Linked DNA regions of Homo sapiens: region 2 is linked to region 1. Evidence: promoter capture Hi-C in 16 types of primary human blood cells and fetal thymus (Javierre and others, 2016). All regions are on one chromosome and are shown on one strand. The core of a region is centred on a gene start or on the middle of the fragment in contact, and the rest is flanking DNA. Distances in the headings are between cores, read along the strand shown. Region 1 holds the start of KCNK5 (potassium two pore domain channel subfamily K member 5). Region 2 overlaps KCNK16 (potassium two pore domain channel subfamily K member 16).

Region 1 (2,700 bases), core at 85-2,584:
CGGTTCCCAATGTCAGCACGGAGGGAAGTCCCCCACCCACCCCAATTCCGCACACACTCTCCTCCCCCATCATAAAGGGACTACGCGGGTATTATTCGTTTGTGCAACCTGCTACTTTCACAAAGTTTTACTCCAAGCCCTTGAAGGATGTCTCCGCGAGATAAGCCTTCCCGGAAGCCTGAGCGCGTCCCCAGCATTCCAGGCACCAGCCCTCATCCCGTGGGTTCGGGCCCCACAGAGCCTCCAGCTCCTCTCCGGAACTCTGCTGGGGGCGGAAGATTTTGCCCAGGCTCGGGCTGAGGGACCCTCCCGCCACTCTGCCGGGTTCACGTTCCTTAAGAAAAGCCTGGCAGGCGTGGCACTGGCCCTGGAGCGGGGAGGTGGAGACACGAGGGGATGGCACCAGGCTTGGCTCCCAGACTCCGGGAGCGTCTCCAGGGAAAGATAAACGCCTTTATCCGTCCCACAGCCTCTTCCCAAGGAGGGAGGTACCGTCACACCCACACTGAAACACCGTGGAGCCTAGTTCACCCGGGAATCAACTCCAATTTGTCTCCGGCCAAACTAAGTTCCAAAGAGTCTCCGCGCCTGGGGGACCCCTGTGTCCCTCGGGTGAGCGACAGATCCTCGAAGCCTGACCCATGATGAGACACGCTCTCTCATCACCCCCTGGACCTTCCACAGGGACTGAGGGTCACCCAAAGCTGTGAAGGGGTCTTCCTTTCAGCGCCCCCTAAAGCTCAAGCCAGCTTCAGATGTATATGGGGGTACAGGCGGCGACTGACCTCTAGGATCTTGTCCAGGCCCTCCTGACCCAGGCACGGGAACTCCTTGAGCAGATGCAGCTTCTGTGTGTAGTAGTTTTTCTTGGCCTCCTTCCAGTGTGGCTCCTCCAGCACTTCGAAGATCGCCGCCCCGATGGCCAGGTAGAAGATGATGGCCGAGGTGAGCAGAGGGCCCCGGTCCACCATGGCTCCCGAGCGGCCGCCTCCTAGAGAAAGCCTCTCCTAGCCCCAGCTGCTACCAGTCCGCCCGCCCTCCAGCCTCTGAAAACAGCTGTTTGAATTTGGAGCTCCGCATGCGCAGTGCCCGGTACTCACCCCCCGCAAGCACCGCTCCCCGGACAGAGTTGCTTGGCCAAGTTGGCCCACGGAGTGCGGGGAGCTGCGTGGGGCCCCACTCACGCGGCCCGGGGTGGGCGAACACCAGCGGGGCTGAAAGGGCGCCCTGGACCGCGGATGCGTAAGGAGCGGGAAGAACACAGGACTTGACTCTGGGCAGACACGTGGGCCGCTTCTCCACGCGTCGCTCCTCCGCGCGCCACTAGCAGTATGCGCCGCGCCCGCCTCCGCACGCCTCTTTAACCAGCGCCCGGCGCGCTCTGCCCCCTTGCTCCGGGCTCCGACCGGGGAGGAGCCCAGGCGGGCCCCGCCCCTTCCCCGCACAAGCAGCCCGGCGAGCGCAGGAGTGAGCGCGAGGTGAGCGCTAGAAGAGGCTTGGCGCTCCCCGCGCTCCCAGGGTCAGCCGCCAGGGGAGGCTGCGCCGCCCGCCCAGACCTGCACGCCCTGCGGTGCCCGAGGGGTTGCGGTCTCAGGGACTCGTGTTTGTTATTAGGACTGGCGTGTTAACTAAAATGATTGTGACTGAGGTCAGGAGTTTATTGCTTTTGTTATTTTTATTGTAATTCCATTTTCATTTACTGATGTTTCTTCCAAAAAAGTCTAATGCTCAGTCTCTCCGTGTCTCTCTTCCACACACTTTCTTGTAAGCCTGAGGAAGGGGGTTAGAACGGGGCTGAAGAAGCTGTAGGGAATCAGAGGACATCAGGAACTAATCCAGCCACCCACGCGTGATTCCTCCCCCTCACCCCGTTCTCACCTACCCGGGTGAGAACCCTGCATCTGGAAGGAGTGGGCAGCTCAATTCGTGGCACCCCTGTGCGCCCCCCCAATACACAGTATCTCTACGGGAAACACTTGGCCTCTTTTCTTTTTTTCTTTTCTCTTTTCTTTTCTCTTCTCCTTTCCTCTCCTTTCCTCTTTTCTTTCAGACGGAGTCTCACTCTGTCGCCAGGCTGGAGTGCAGTGGCACTATCTCGGCTCACTGCAACCCCCGCCTCCCGAGTTCAAGCAGTTCTTCTGCCTCAGCCTCTCAAGAAGCTGGGACTACAGGCGCACGCCATCACGCCCAGCTAATTTTTGTATTTTTAGTAGAGACGGGGTTTCACCGTGTTGGCCAGGCTGGTCTCAATTCCTGACCTCAGGTGATCCGCCCGCCTCAGCCTCCCAAAGTGCTGGGATTACAGGCGTGAGCCACCGCGCCCGGCCCACTTTCATACATATGCTCCAGCTGATTTAAAATTCCACCCCCGCCACCTTATCTCCCTCGTTGGCTTTATGTCCTTCCTAGTACTAAATTCCCTCTGCTATATTATATAACTTTATTTATTGTTTACTCTGTATTGTGCCCTCTCCCCGCCACACACACACAGACACACACACACACACACACACACACACACACACACGGAAATGTCTGCTGGGGAGATGGAGAATCTGTCTTGTGTAATGATGTATCCACAGTGCTTGTTACATACATAGCAGACACTCAATAACCATGTGTGCAATGAAGGAGTGAATGAATTTGTTAAAAACAGGTGCCCAGGATGTTTCTAACTCGCCTTGCTGCCATTCTCTGAGC
Region 2 (2,700 bases), core at 1-2,500, 88 kb after region 1:
GGCAGGCACTTCCACTGCTGTATCCCCAGACCCTGGCACAGACCCTGGCACAGCACCTGGCACATAGTAGGGGCTTGGCAAATGCACTGTGCACATATCAAATGAGGCAAAAGTAAAGTCATCCTTTGTTTGTGTAAGGTCTCCTGGAAGGGGGCATGGGGAGGGCAGTGGAGATCTGGCCACTACCTTTGGGTGGAAGGCTGTGGCAGGGGCTCTGGGACAAGGGTACACCTCCCCATCCACACATGTCTTTAATCCTATCTCACGTCTCCTCTCTGTTACTTTCTTGGATATACCTGTCTCCTTTCTCTCTTGGGAGAGCTCCTGAGACCAGCCCTGGCTGAGAAGTGAGGGGGTTGGGAGAGGAGAAAGCAGGGCTGGAAATCCAGAGAGCAGATAGGGTGGGACTGGGGAGGATGAAAGGGGTTTCTGGGCCCCCCCCGGGGGCCTCATGCAGAGATGGGGATCTTCTGAGGCCTGGGGAGCCCACTGGGGTCAGAGGCTGCCCCATCCTTGACGCCGAGGCCCCTACTGAGCAGCCAGAGCTGGCAGCATCTGTGCAGAAGCAGGGGGCCCAGTGGGAGGATCAGCGCCAGCCACGCCAGGCCCAGGAGGATCCAGATGGCTGCCAGGCTCCGATACACTGAGATATAATGCTTGCTGGGGTCTGTGCCTGCCAGGGAAGGGAATGGCATCAATGCCAGGGGTCTCAGGGCATAGCCACCTCCAGTTTCCATAGGGACCCTCACCAGCCAGGATGCTCTCTCCCTCTTCCTCATAACAAGGAACAGCAGTTGAGGTAGGTCTCTGCAGGGTGGTGATGGGTCCTAGACCAGAAACTTCTGAGAATGTTGCTTAGAATCCACAGTAGTCCCAGAAATCATTGGTTTGGCTCCCTTGAATGACCAAGGGCTATCTTATCCTCAATAGTTGTCCTCAGCTGACATCTCTCCATCCCCCAAATCCCAGTGGGCACCCCCACCCTGAGATAATGTGACTGTTTTGTTCTCACCAACAACATAGTCCCCAAAGCCAATGGTGCTGAGAGTGATGAAAGCAAAGTAGAAGCCCTCGCTGAAGCTCCAGCCCTCCACATGGCTGAAGACCATGGGTGGGAAGATGAGAATGACCAGCGTCCCCAGGGTCAGGAACAGAGCCAGGCCCAGGACTTGCAGTACCTAGGAGGGAGGGAGTTGGCCTCTGAGTCCACTTGAAAGTCTCCAGGATTGTATGAGGTTGGGGGGAGTCTGGGGTAAACATGGGAATGGGACTGGGCCATAGCTAGGACCCTTTCCTGCACTGCAGACCCTCGAGGTGGAGGTTGTATCTATGTGTGCATGACCTTGTCCCACCCAGGGAAAGATTTCGGCAGAGGGATTGCGTTAGTGGGTCAAGAAGCGATTTGGAGACCCCTTTGGACTTGGGGATCACACTTGAACAGGCTCCCTGGGGACTCAGATCTGGAACAGAAAAGTATCATTGAACTGTCTGCGTATTTCTGGCCTTGCAAGTGGCTGGCCAAGGGTGGGCACTGAGGGCATGCTGGGCAGCCTGCAGAGCTTGTTTGCTACTGCACAAAAGGATGTTGGAGTTCTGTGATGACCTTGAAGATGTGCTACAGAGATCCCTCACTTAAAGGAGGACGGTGGGCCAGCTGCCAGCTCCTTCAGGGTGTTCAGCTGCAGAGAACCTCCTGGCCTAGGGGCATACCCTTCCTGGGAAGGCCACACCCAGTGCCTGATTGAGGCAGGTATGAAAACCTGGCTGGTTCCGCCCACTGTGGGACAACTCTGACAGCTCTCACATGCTGTAGAGCTCCTTGGGGCCAAGCCTTTGTAGAGCATGCATAGAGATCCAACTCCCCACTCTGCCCAACCCTGCCTTCACCCTTCCTCTTTCACAGGCATCTACCCCTAACACCATGCATGCCAAACTCCATCTCAGCATCGGCTTCTGGGGAACTCCACTTGCAACAGATCTGTCACAGCAGGCCTGTAAGGGAGTTAGGGGGCATACCTGGGAGCGCCTGGGACGGTCCTCCCATCTTTCAATGGCGGCCAGATGGGCACGCAGCCCTGTGCCCAGGTGGTTGAGGAAGATCACGTTAAGCGGGATGCCCAACAGGGCATAGAAGACACAGAAGACCTGACCTGCCTCTGTGCTGGGTGCCAGGTTCCCATATCCTGCAAGGGAAGGGGGGCGTGTGCAAATATGGAGACTCTAGAACGCCCTCTGCTCCTCTTCCCCAGACTCTAGCTGAGGTTTGTCTGTCACCACCTCTGGGGGTGAGAAGGGGAAGCTCCCCTGTTCCCATGAACTCTGCTGGAATGATTTTTATTTATAGGACTCCTGCTCATCTTTGAAGGCCCATCTCAAATGACTCTGCCTCCATGAAGCCCTCCTGACTGCCGATTTCCTTCTCCCTTCTGGGTGTGGTTCCCCATAGTGTTTTATGTCATTGCTATGTAATTATCGACTTTGTTTTCTATTACTTTTTTTTGTGTATTTATCATGTTCCTCTTTGTTGGACTGGAAGTTCCTTGCAGGCTGAGCCTGGGTCTGATCCAAGTTTGTATCTCTCACCCCCAACTCCATCACTCTGCCTGGAATGTCACCTGAGTTCAAGGAAAGTATGTGGAATTGGACTTAACTGAATGGATGGGGTAGACCTGGATCTGATGGTTTCCTTGGGGTGGGATG

Evidence for each region. Contacts are between HindIII fragments. The CHiCAGO score rates a contact against its expected background, and 5 or more counts as called.
Region 2: a contact is called between a fragment that was not itself captured here and the fragment with the promoter of KCNK5 in region 1, in 1 of 17 cell types (megakaryocytes). The highest score is 5.1, in megakaryocytes.

Annotation. Positions count from the first base shown.
Region 1 is chr6:39,228,141-39,230,840 of GRCh38, forward strand. KCNK5 (potassium two pore domain channel subfamily K member 5) reads right to left here and starts at 1,335. Exons shown (of 5, transcript NM_003740.4): 1 at 786-1,335. The coding sequence starts at 971. RefSeq lists silencers at 13-82, 1,096-1,175, 1,276-1,625 and an enhancer at 1,913-2,640. The HindIII fragment of the contact is 7,595 bases long and covers 1-2,700 here.
Region 2 is chr6:39,315,770-39,318,469 of GRCh38, forward strand. KCNK16 (potassium two pore domain channel subfamily K member 16) reads right to left here. Exons shown (of 5, transcript NM_001135106.2): 3 at 2,017-2,183; 4 at 1,013-1,178; 5 at 402-673. The coding sequence ends at 450. The region is part of intron 1 of LOC105375047 (a long non-coding RNA gene); the gene reads left to right. Among named protein-coding and RNA genes, the nearest start is that of KCNK17, 2.7 kb to the left of the region's middle. The HindIII fragment of the contact is 3,058 bases long and covers 1-2,700 here.